2 separate regions of the Homo sapiens genome follow, and region 1 is linked to region 2. Evidence: promoter capture Hi-C in human tissues and cell types (Jung and others, 2019). All regions are on one chromosome and are shown on one strand. Each heading gives the region's core, a stretch centred on a gene start or on the middle of the fragment in contact. The rest is flanking DNA. Distances are from core to core; before and after follow the strand shown. Region 1 has its middle 68 kb from the start of RBL2. Region 2 holds the start of CHD9 (chromodomain helicase DNA binding protein 9).

The links. The method cuts DNA at HindIII sites, captures the fragments that hold promoters and counts their contacts. A contact is called where the count stands out against the background at its distance.
Region 1: a fragment that was not itself captured here is called in contact with the fragment with the promoter of CHD9 in region 2 in 1 of the 25 tissues and cell types used here (spleen).

What each region holds. Positions count from the first base shown.
Region 1 is chr16:53,363,326-53,369,803 of GRCh38, forward strand. It overlaps the pseudogene LOC101929000 and the pseudogene MPHOSPH10P1. Among named protein-coding and RNA genes, the nearest start is that of RBL2, 68 kb to the right of the region's middle. The HindIII fragment of the contact is 6,033 bases long and covers 1,726-6,478 here.
Region 2 is chr16:53,053,504-53,059,713 of GRCh38, forward strand. It overlaps CHD9 (chromodomain helicase DNA binding protein 9), which reads left to right and starts at 1,488. Exons shown (of 39, transcript NM_001308319.2): 1 at 1,488-1,574. RefSeq lists enhancers at 1,782-2,313, 1,826-1,875, 4,526-4,575. The HindIII fragment of the contact is 13,928 bases long and covers 1-5,488 here.

The sequences.
Region 1 (6,478 bases), core at 3,492-5,991, 310 kb after region 2:
AATGTAAGGAAAACAATACCACTCCTATTTTACAGATGTGAAAAGAGAGGCCCAAAGAGCTCAAGCAATTTGCCCTAAATCATATCCCTAGCAGATGGAGAGGCAGGATTCAAACCCAGAATTCTTAACCGGTACCTGGCAGTTCTTCCACAATCTTAACAATTACCCTCCACCACCCCTTGGGCCCTCTGTCTCCAGGAGCCTGGCCAGCCAAGACTCACATCCTCAGGTGAGTGGCAACCACCAGAAGTGGTTGTCTCAGGGTTAGTGCCATTATTTATTTTCTTCTTTTTGGTGTCGGTTGCTCCTGTACCAACACTAGGGCTGGTCTGGGGAGGAGAGTCTCTCAACTGTGGAAAGGAAGAGCAGTGATACTCATGAGAGCTACAAGCTCCTACAGTCACATCCTGCTTTACAGTTTATACAAAATACTATTATAGACCATCTGATTTAATGCCACCAAGAACTGTAGGAAGTGTTGTCACAATCACTTAGTGACTGAGAGGGATTGATACCATGGCTGAAAAAAAGGCAATAATGGAACTTAAACTCAGTCTTCTGACTCCGAGCTCCAGGATTTTGCCACAAATCAGCAGCTGCCAGGGACCAAAACCAGAGGCAGAGGTAGAAAAGCAAATATTAAGTAGGCAGAAACTGTATACTGTGTGGTTTAGAGCCATACACCCTCACACATCTGTTAGTGTTAAGAAGTGCACCAGTACCTCTCAAACTTTTACATCAATGTATCCTCATGGCAGAAGGCAGCCTTTCTGTTAAATCTGGGAATTTAACAGAAAGAGGATAACCCAAGCCTCATTTCAGAGAGAAGTCTTGTATACTCATAAATCTATGTGACTGTCATGCCTAAGTACATTAATGTTTTGTCTCTCAATAGAATCAAGGGAAACTGATGCTTCAGAAAGATGCCCCATATTTATCCTGTGGCACTCAAATTACCCCAGGTTGAGATGAGATGAGCTTAAATCCCTGCCTCTTGAGGGAAATCAGCCCAGTTTCAGGACGTGCAGTTCACAAAACTGCCCCATCTTCCCTTTATTTTTTCTTTTTATTTTATTTATTTATGTATTTATTTTGAGATGGAGTCTCGCTCTGTTGCCCAGGCTGGAGTGCAGTGGCGCATCTCAGCTCACTGCAACCTCCATCTTCTGAGTTCAAGCGATTCCCCTGCTTCAGCCTCCTGAGTAGCTGGGACTACAGGCATGCACCACCATGCCCAGCTAATTTTTGTATTTTTAGTAGAGAGGGAGTTTTACCATCTTGGACAGGCTGGTCTCGAACTCCTGACCTCAAGTGATCCATCTGCCTTGGCCTCCCAAAGTGCTGGGATTACAGGCATGAGCCACTGTGCCTAGCCTGTCATATTATTTTTAAAAATTTCAGTGACATTTCAATTAAGTTAAATTTAATTCTTACTGACCTGATCTCTTATCTTCTGTTTAATGATATATTAACAGATTACAGTTAATATATTACAGTTAATAATAATATACAGTTAATATACAGTTATATATACAGTTAATATATATTATTAACTGTATAACATACAGTTAATATATATTATTAACTGTATAATATACAGTTAATAATAATTACAGTTAATATATTACAGTTAATAATAATAACTGTAATAACTGATTACAGTTGAAAGGTGTTTCCCCTGTAATCACAAGTGCTAAAGGAAATATAACATGTATTCATTAGATAGATATCCACTAAACCACTGATTCTCGCATTGTAGTCCTTAGACCCTCAGCATCAGCAACACGTGGGAACCTGTTAGACATGCAAATTCCTGGACCAGCCCCACACTTCCTGAATCAGAAAGTGGGGAAGAGGGACAGCTATCTGTGCTTTAATAAGCCTTGAGATGCTCCCTGAAGTTTGAAAACTACAGAACTAGAATACATATGGTAGTAAGTGCTCATACTTTATCCAAGGTACCAGGGACTCTTCCCCTCTTTTCCATTCTCTTTTCTGTTGAAATAAAATGAAAACTTATTTTGACTTAATGGGTATAAAAAAGAAGGCAATGAGATGACCAGGGTTTCAAGTTAAGAGTTCAAAATTTAATCAGTGGACAGTGACAGGATGCAAGTCTTCTAAACAGATTACTGCAAGGAAGCTGATTATAATCTATACAGTAGGTATCATTAGTGTACTGATGTTAAATGTTTTGGGTGGATTAATGGTATTGTGATTATATAGGAGAATATCCTGGTTCTTAGGAGATATCTGCAAAAGTACTTAACAGTGAAATGCTATGATACTGGCAACTTACTTTGAAATGATTCAGGGGGAAAAAGGGCAAATATACAATCTTCCATATGGGGAAAAGAGAACACAAATATGACAAAATGTGAACTAGTGAATCCAGTTGAATAGAATACAGATGTTCACTGTATGATTTTATCAACTTTTCTGTGTTTGCAAGTTTTTAAAATAAAAAGTTAAGGGAAAAGAAACATCGCCCCAAATCTTTCTATGAAATGGAACCACAGAAAAAGCATAGAAGTGAACTCTTTGCAGAAGAGGGCACTGTACCCATCCAGACAGCATGGTTAAAGTGCAGGGTCTCCTCCAGGAAGCTATTCTCTGGTCTCTTCTGTGCTGTCACTTCCCCCCGACGCTGCCAAGGCTTTTTTCTAATAACTCTTTTTCTAAAGATGTAATTTTTTTCATTCATCTAAGAAAGAGACAAAAAAATTAGTATACATTTAGAAAATAAAATTATACTTGTGTAAAAACAAAAAATACTTTGAAAAGTGGGGAAGCAAAAAATGTACTGTTCTATAATTCTGTTCTGTTCTTACCATCTTTTTATTCTGCCAATGACCTCCTATTCCTGCTGCCTATGGTGAGGTGAGCTGCAAATAATTTCTTATCCTCATTTATTTAAAATTTCATGTTTATAATATACTAAACTCCCTCAGAAGCATTTGGGTTTATTTCTGGGCTCTATTCTATTCAAGTGATCTATCTGTTCACAAGCCACTATCAATTTTGATTATTAGAGCATCCTAAAGTTAAGTAATTCTTTTTTTTTTTTTTTTTTTAGATGGAGTCTCTCACTCTGTTGGCCAGGCTGGAGTGCAGTGGCATGATCTCAGCTCACTGCAAGCTCCTCCTCCCGGGTTCAAGCCATTCTCCTGCCTCAGCCTCTGGAGTAGCTGGGACTACAGGCACCCGCCACCACGCCTGGCTAATTTTTTGTATTTTTAGTAGAGATGGGGTTTCATCATGTTAGCCAGGATGGTCTTGATCTCCTGACCTCGTGATCCACCCACCTTGGCCTCCCAAAGTGCTGAGATTACAGGCGTGAGCCACCACACCTGGCCAAGTAATTCTTTGATTAGGATATTAGTATTTGATGGAGTCTGACCCTTTTGACTTTAAACTCAAATTCTTATTATCTCTAACTTCTAAAAGACAACAATTATGACTTCAGTGTATAAAATGCCAGCTTTTTCAGCTAACTTACAGAATTCTCTTATTTTCCTAATATTGATTCAGTTTATCCTTTCGGTTTTCTCTCCAAACACTAATGTTTTCATTTTAGTATCCCTAATCTTTTTTTTTTTTTTTTTTTTTTTGAGACAGAGTCTCGCTCTGTTGCCCAGGCTGGAGTACAGCTGCACTATCTCAGCTCATTGCAACCTCCATCTCCCAGGCTCAAGCAGTCCTCTCACTTCAGACTCCCAAGTAGCTGGGACACAGGCACATGTAACGCGCCCAGCTAATTTTGTATTTTTTTGCAGAGATGAGGTCTCACCATGTTGCCTGGGCTGGTCTCAAACTCCTGAGCTCAAGTGCTGAGAGCTCCTGAGCTCCCAAAGTGCTGGGATTACAGGTGTGAACCACTGCTCCTGGAAGTTTTCCTAATCTCTTATCTTTTGTAGTTGCACTGGCTTATGTGGCTATTAACTGTTAGTGTTAATTAACAGGGGTAACTGTAATACTGGACATTTTGTCTTATTCCTGATCTTAAAGGGATGTTTGTAGAATTTCACCCATCATGCATGATGGCAGCTTTTGGCTAGATGTATTTATAACCCACTAGGAGTTAAAAAAAAATCAGAAATAAATATTGAATTTTATCAAATGTCTTTCTAACATATATGGAGGGAACCGTGTATTTTCTCCTTAACGTCTTGCAACCAGGAATCATATCAGATCTTCTAATAGTGATTCAAAAGGATAAGGTTCATGTGGTTGTGTGGCATAATTTTCCCACTGTGCTATGTTTGCATCACTAGTCATGAATGAGAGAGTGTGTGTGTTTTAACGCCACCTTTGTCAGGTTTGGGTTTTCATGTTCTAACAGTTTGAAAAGAAAAAAGTTTGAAAGTTCTATTTTATTCTTTATCTGTGGAAATTGCAATAAATTATTTGTGATTTACTGAAAATTTCACTTGAAGGTCTGATATAATTTCAAAGCAAAACCAAACCTTTCTTTCTTTTTTGTGGGGGAAGGGTGGGAGGAGTGGGATGGGAGGACACTAACTCATTGATACTTTATGGTTTTTTTCCCCCTTTAGAATTTATTTTCTTGGGACAATCTGACAACGATGAATTTAATTTAGATTCGCAGATTTTAAAAATAATTCTTTTGATATTCTTGGTATAGTTTATTTGCCTGTTCTCCAGCTCTGTTGCCCAGGCTGGAGTGCCTAGTCCAATCATAGCTCACTGCAGCCTTGAACTGCTGGACTCAAGTGATCATCCCCGATAAGCCTCTCGAGTAGCAGAGACTATAGGCTCATGCTACCACACCCAGCTAATTTTTTAAATTTGTAGTGGAGACGGGGTTTCACCGTGTTGTCCATGCTGGTCTTGAACACTTGGGCTCAAGCAATCCTCCCTCCTCAGTCTCCCAAAGTGCTGGGATTACAAGTGTGAGCTACTGTGCCTGGCACTATTCTCATTTTTATTATAATAAAATTTTGGGATTGGATAAATAATATAGCCAAATTATTGGAGCCAGACTATATCTACTAAAATTAATGAGATTTCACTTGTCTGAAATCATGACATACTTTGGGAAGATATGTTTGTCCTGGTATTAATTAAAATTACAGCTATTTGACATTCACCAAAATCTGTGGAGCACCTTAAAGACATAGGCGGTATCCTCTAGAGCAGTCAAAACAGTTACAAGAAGAGGCTCTCAGGACAGCTTTGTCAGGAGAGACAGGCTATACATATAAAGACACAAGGGAGAGAGAAAAGAAACAACTATTTTACACGCAGGCCCCAAATTGAAAGCTATAGGCTGGGTAACGCAGGCACTGATTTCTGCAAATCAGATGCTTTCCATATGGCATCTCTATAAGATGTGCTTTTGCTTTAGAGAGTAGCAGCAAGATCTTCAGTTTTCTGTTTGTTTGTTTGTTTGTTTGTTTGAAGACAGGATCTTGCTCCACCACCCAGGCTGGAAAGCAGTGATGTGATCATAGCTCACTGCAGCATCAACCTCCTGGGCTCAAGTGATCCTCCCGCCTCAGCCACCTGAGTCGCTGGATTACAGGCATACACCACCATGCCCCACTAATTTTTTTATTTTTTGTAGAGACAGGGCCTCACTATGTTGCCCAGGCTGGTCTTGAACTCCTGAGCTCAAGTGATCCTCCCGCTTCAGACTACCAAAGTGCTAGGATTACAGGCATCAACCACCACACCTGGCCAAGATATTTGTTTTCAAAGGATGGTTAATAGTTACAACAAGAAAAATAGGGAAGGCTAGGGCACAGTGGCTCACGCCTGTAATCTCAGCACTTTGGGAGGCCAAGGCAGGAGGATCACCTGAGGTCAGGAGTTCGAGATCAGCCTGGCCAACACGGTGAAACCCCATGTCTTCTAAAAATACAAAAATTGGCCAGGCATGGTGGAATGCACCTTTAATCTCAGCTACTCAGGAGGCTGAGGCAGAATCACTTGAACCCGGGAGGTGGAGGCTGCAGTGAGCCGAGATCACGCCATTGCACTCCAGCCTGGGTGACAGAGCAAGACTCCATCTCAAAAAAAAAAGAAAGAAAATAGGGAAGATTTGTTAGTAGTCTGTGAGTTCCACAATCATGCGAAGCATATTAAAAATTCCTTAAATTCCTAATTACCTTTTCCTGTCTTTTTTCAAAAGAAGATTAACTTCATCAGAATTTTTCTTTACATTTAAAACACCTGCATCTTCAGTTGCCTCATCATCCGGCAAAGCAAAAGTCACTCTTTTCAAGCTTTCTTTACATTGTTTACTGTCTTCTCTTTCTTCCAGGTGATCACCTTCATCCCTACACTACCAAAACTCTTATAAAAAGAAATATATTGTTTTCCATTAGAAAAACAAAAGGAAACATATTTTCCCTTAACAAAGTTCCTCTTTTATATGCCTAATGCAACCAGATACTTAGAACTTCCAAAATCATTCAGGTATTAAGGAAGAGAAGCTATCATTTAAGTGAAATGC
Region 2 (6,210 bases), core at 238-2,737:
CACTGAAGGCATTATCTCCAAATGTTGCCACAGAGATAAACTGCCAGGATTACAAGAAAACGTGAAGACGTTCCCATAGAACTCTGTAATGCTTATATCCATCACCAGGAATGTCTGCCCTTGGCGCCCTAAACATAGATTGATTGATTGATTGATTGATTGATTTTGAGGCAGAGTCTCACTCTGTCACCCAGGCTGGAGTGCAGTGGTGCGATCTCAGCTCACTGCAACCTCCTCCTTCCGGGTTCAAGGGATTCTCCCACCTCAGCCTTGGAGTAGTTGGGATTACAGGCTCCTGCCACCACGCCCGGCTAATTTTTGTATTTTTTGTAGAGACTGGGTTTTGCCATGTTGGCTAGGCTGGTCTCAAACTCCTGACCTCAAGCGATCCTCTTGCCTCAGCCTTCCAAAGTGCTGGGATTACAGGCGTGAGCTACGGTGCCTGGCCCTAAATATAGATATTTTTAATAAATCCTCTACTTATCTCACAACGAGCTCAATCGCTTTGCATTAGATCGTTGGGTGTGTTAAAAGTATTCATGTGTTACATTAAATGTGAATTCAACAAAAGCAGAGATTTTTGTGTTTTGTTCTTCATTGTATCCCTTGATTGTAGAAAAGTGGCACATAGTAGGTGCTCAGTTAATCGTTGTTAAATGAAGACATAAATGAAATATAAACCATTAAATGTCCACCATATTTGTAAGCGTTTTGGCATGTCTTCATTGAAAGAATACCAGGCAGCTGGGAGCCATAGTTTACTCCGGTAATCCCAGTGCTTTGGGAGGCTGCAGGTGAGAGGATCGCTTGAGACCAGGAGTTCAAGAGCCACCAGGGCAACATAGAGAGACCTTGTCTCTACAAAAACAAAACAAAACAAAACAAAAAACAAAAAACACAATTCCCTTAAGCCGCCCCTTCCCCTTCCACTGCTCAGAGAAGGCCTTCCAGCAGAGCAGAGCACGAGGTCGCTGGCACACACCCATCCTCCACCAGTCCTGGCCTCTGTAGAGCAAGCCAGCAGAGCAGGCTGTTTCTCTCATTCAGGGACGGTTTAGGGGGTGGCAGGAAAAAATGGTTGCTGATAGGCGAAGGGCCTCCCTGGGTTGGAGAGAACCCCAGCCTCGGATGGTCCCAGCACATTTAAAAGAGAAGCAGTGCCAAAGGTGGGGTGCACTGAAAGCTGCTGGATGAAGGGAAAGATCCTTGTGCTCAGCCCGGAAAACCGGAGGATGGATACCAGGCCGAGGGGTCCCTCCGTGCCCCAAGAGAAAGTTCACCAAGTTTAGATCCCAGTGCCCCGCAGCGGGTGAAGGTGGTCCCGCCCCAGGCCGGATCTGGCCACAGGGCTGGCGGCGCGCTGGAAAACCGCCCACGTGGGAAGAAGCCCTGGCTGCATTTCCGCCCTGGACTGCGCTCCCGCCTGCCAGCGCGGTCCCTGCGCAGCCGCCCCGCGCCCACTAGGTGGCGCCTGCGCTCTAGTGGGCGCTTCACAGGCGCAGCGACAGCGACAGCGACAGCTCGAACCTGAGTCCCAGGATTCCGGGGACTGGAGGGCAGCGCCGGCAGCCAAGGTAGGATTCCTGAGCCCCGGGCGTCTCCCTGGAGCCTCTGAGGTCGGGGTGGACAGCGGGGCGGCCGCTGGGCACCGCTTGCGGTCTGCAGAGATAACCGGAGGAGTCGGGGCGGCAGCACGTGTTGTAGCCGTGGGGGGGACCCAGAGACCCGCAGCCTCGGAGCTGGGCCTAGAGCAAGGCAGAGCACCAGGTCGCTGGCACGCTCGCATCCTCCCCAGCCCTCGCCTCCCAGAGCATGCCCGAATCCCCAAGCCGGGCGTCCTCGAAGCGGAAAGCAGCCACTGTCGCCCAGAGCCACTCCAGGGTGGCAGCCGAGTGCTGATAAGGTCCAGAGCACCACTTCTTAAACTTGTCTGCCCGTTGGCGTTGCTTGGGAAGCATTAAAAAAATACCGATGCCCTAGTTCCACCCCCGCCCCCCCCCAGAGACTCAGATGTGATTGGTCTGGGTGGGGGACTGGACATCTGGGTATTAAAATGTTTGCAAGAGATTCCAGCTGGCAGCCAAATTTGAGGACCCTTGATCTAAGGAGTTGGAGAAAAACGGAGGACATTTGTTTGTTCTAACCCAGAATGCTGATGATTCCCTCCTCCTCCTATTCCTCCAGTTCGCCCTCCTCCTCCTTTCTCATGTGCCTTTTAAGCAGGAAATGCCTCTGCCTTTGTACTGTCAAACCCAAGATAACAAACTAACCATCCCCCACCCCCCACAGTAGGGCTGGTTCTGAAAGGGTTGAACTCGAAAGTGGACAAGGAACAGAAAGACACCAGTGTGGAATGTGAGCGAAGACTCTTAGGGGTTTATGGGTAGGAAGGGGGTTCCTCCCCACCCTGATCCCAGAGAAGATCAGGAGACTGGCTGGAGCTGTCTTCCTCATTTTGGCAAACCTAGCTGATTAGGCAGTGAGAGGCCTTATAACGAGCCTTTTTTACAACTAGTAAAAGGGCCCTTTTACAACTAGTAAAAATGAGCCCTTATGTTTGTTTGTTTTATAGAGATAGGGCCTCACTATATTCCCCAGGATGGTCTCAAACTCCTAGGCTCAAGCCATTCTCCAGCCTCGGCCTCCCAAAGTGCTGGGATTATAGGCATGAGCCGCTGCGCCCCGCTGACCCCTTATGTTTATATAACAGCAGTGTTACTAACATGGGCATAGATTCCCCCCCATAGGCAGCCCTTCCTTTGTGACCTTGGAAACTCACTGAACCATCCTCAGCTTCAGTTTTTGTATCTGCAAAATGGGTGTGAAAATCGGGTTGCCTTGGGAATTATTCACAATAAAAGCTACTGTTTACTAAGGGTTCACCCTATGCTAGAGGCTTTCTGTGCAGGGCCAAGTTAGACTCCTGACCATAACTTCCACGGTAGAACTATGAATACTGCATTTGATAGCCAAGGAAACTGAGGCTCAGAGAGGCCAATGATCTTGCTCGAAGTTATATAATTAATTAATAAGAAGCATGTCCCATATTTGAACCCAGGCAGTCTGCTCTTGAGCTCAGGTGCAAAAGAACAATACTCTGCTGTTTCCCTTGTTGACCAGGACAGCGTGCACGGGGCAGGCGCGTGGTGTGTCTTCACAAACACTAGCTATCACTGCTGTGAGCTGAGCACTTCCACTGAATTGACTCATTCGCTCATTGGAAATACATTTATTATTGAGAGCCTACTGTGGGCCAGGCAGTTTTCCAGATGCTAGAGATAAAATATGAGTAAGACAGAATTCAGCCAGCCCCGAATGAGAGAAACAGGAAGAAAGTGCAGTAGATTCTCATTATTCACAAGTTCTAAATTTGCAAATTCTTCCCTGTAATCCCAGCACTTTGAGAGGCTGAGGCAGGAGGATCGCTTGAGGCTAGGAGTTTCAGATCAGCCTGTGCAACAGAGCAAGGCCCTGTTTGCTTAAAAATTATACACATTGAATAATTCTTAAAAAAAATTTGTTTGTGGCCAGGCATGGTGGCTCATGCATATAATCCCAGTACTTTGGGAAGCTGAGGCAGAAAGATTACTTGAGGCTAGGAGTTCCAGATCAGCCTGGGTAACACAGTAAGACCCTATATCTTTATTTTAAAAATTATATAATTAAAGAATTTTTAAAAAAATATGTTTGTGGCCGGGTGTGGTGGCTCACACCTGTAATCCCAGCACTTTGGGAGACTGAGGTGTGAGGTTAGGAGTTTGAATTTAGGAGTTTGACACCAGCCTAATCACTTGAGCTAAGGAGTTTGAGACCAGCCTGGACAGCATAGAGAGACCTTGGCTCATTTAAAAAAAAAAAGAGGAAAAAAGGCCGGGTGCAGTGGCTCATGCCTGTAATCCCAGCACTTTGGGAGGCCGAGGTGGGTGGATACCTGAGGTCAAGAGTTCGAGACCAGCCTGGCCAACATGGCAAAACCCCGTCTCTACTAAAAATTCAAAAAATTAGCTGGGCGTGGTGGCAAGAGCCCGTAATCCCAGCTGCTTGGGAGGCTGAGGCAGGAGAATTGCTTGAACCTGGGAGGTGGAAGTTGCAGTGAGCCAAGATCACGCCATTGTACTCCAGCCTGGGCAACAACAGCGAAACTCCATCTCAAAAAAAAAAAAGAAAGAAAAAAGAAAAATAATGTCTGCGTAACTTCCAAATCAATATCCATGACACTTTCACAGTCATATATGGATGCACGTAGAATAGTGAAAAAGTTGAGTCACCCAACGTGCACATTTCCAGCCAAGGGCAAACAGGAGGACACGCTGCTTTCTGGTTTCAGCTCTTGTGCTATAAACAAGTGTCCCTTTTGTGGTGTACTTAGTGCCACATTTTTTGCATGTTTGTGTGTTTTTGTTTGTGATGTCGCTGTTTGAAATGGCCCCAAGTGTACAGTTGACGTGCTGTCTAGTGTTCCTAAGTATGAGAAGGCTGCGATGTGCCTTACAGAGAAAGCTTGTCTGTTAGGTAAGCTTCGTTCAGGCATGAGTTATAGTGCAGTTGGCTGAGTTCAGTGTTAATGAATAATATGTATATATATCAACAATATATATCAAATAAGGTGTCTTTTGTCTTTGTTTTTGTTTTTTTGAGATGGAGTCTCACTCTGTCTCCCAGGCTGGAGTGCAGTGGCACGATGTCAGCTCACTGCAGTCTCCACCTCTGGAGTTCAAGCGATTCTCCTGCCTCAGCCTCCCATGTAGCTGGTACTACAGGCACATGCCACCACGCCCAGCTAATTTTTGTATTTTTAGTAGAGACGAGGTTTCACCATGTTGCCCAGGCTGGTCTCGAGCTCCCGACCTCAGGTGATCACCCACTTTGGCCTCCAAAGTGCTAGGATTACAGGCTCAAGCCACAGCACCTGGCCTATAAGGTATCTTTAAACAGAAACACACATAAACAAAGGTTATGCATTGATCTGCCAGGCAGAAGGTGGGGTTAGAAAAAGATGTTTCTGGCAGAAAGGTCAGCATGTACAGAGATAGCCAAGAGCTTGGCAAGGCCAGGGGACTCAAGGAGAGCCAGTGGGCAGGGAGTGTGGTGGTGAAAGGGAGAGAGGCTGGGGCCAGGCGGCTCAGTGTCTTGTGGGCAGCTCTCATTTCATCCGATTAGCACGGTAATCCTGGCAGGTTGGACAGGATCATTTCCGCCTTTGAGAGATGATGAAATTGACGTTCCATGCTGTTAAATGACTTGCCCAAAGTTGCACTGCTGGTAAGCAGCAACACCCCCCACCCTCCAACTTAATCTAATGTTGACCAGACATTTGGGTTTTTTGTTTTGTTTTGTTTTGTTGGTTTTTGGTTTCTTTTGTTGTTGTTTTTAAGACACAGGGTCTTGCTCTGTCACCCATGCCTCCTGTAGTGGTATGATCATAGCTACTGCAGCCTCAACCTCCTGAGCTCGAGGGATCCTCCCACCCAGCCAAGTAGCTGGGGCTACAGGTGCACACCATCATGCCCAGCTAATTTTTTAAGTAGGGTCTTACTGTGTTGCCTAGGCTGGTCTCCAACTCCTAGACTCAAGTGTTTCTCCTGCCTTGGCCTCTCAAAGCACTGAGATTACAAGCATGATCTACCTTACCTGGCCAACATTTGGGTATTGATCAGAAATCTCAGGACGTGGGCTGGAGGTTTGGTTTGTTCTGGGGAGAAATCAGTAACTAAGTGGTGGTGAAAGTGATCAAGCGTCGATGAAACCACGTGGGATAGTGGCAGGGTGTGGAGAAGAAAATTTCTCATGTCCTTTAAAAAAGAAAAATATTTCTGGTGGCTGGGCACAGTGGCATATGCCTGTAATCCCAGCACTTTGGGAAGCAGAAGTGGGAGGAATGCTTGAGGCCAAGAGTTCAAGACTAGCCTGGGCAACATAGTGAGACCCCCACCTCTATCTTTAACAACAAGAAAAATGGAAAAAAAATTTAGTCAAAAAATATTACTGGTATAAAGACATGAATTCCTCTGTGAAAGAGTCTTAGGTACTTGCAGAGGGTGGGAGTAATGACCATGGTCATAAAGATGTGGCAAAAGGAAATGTGAGGTTCTGATTCAAACTGCCCCCAAATACTAGGTCTGGGCATCGGCCTCCCCACTCATGGGGCAGCCAGGCCTCAATCTGCCTCTTGTCTCTGCAGGATAATGACCGTGAACAGGCATCAGCAAA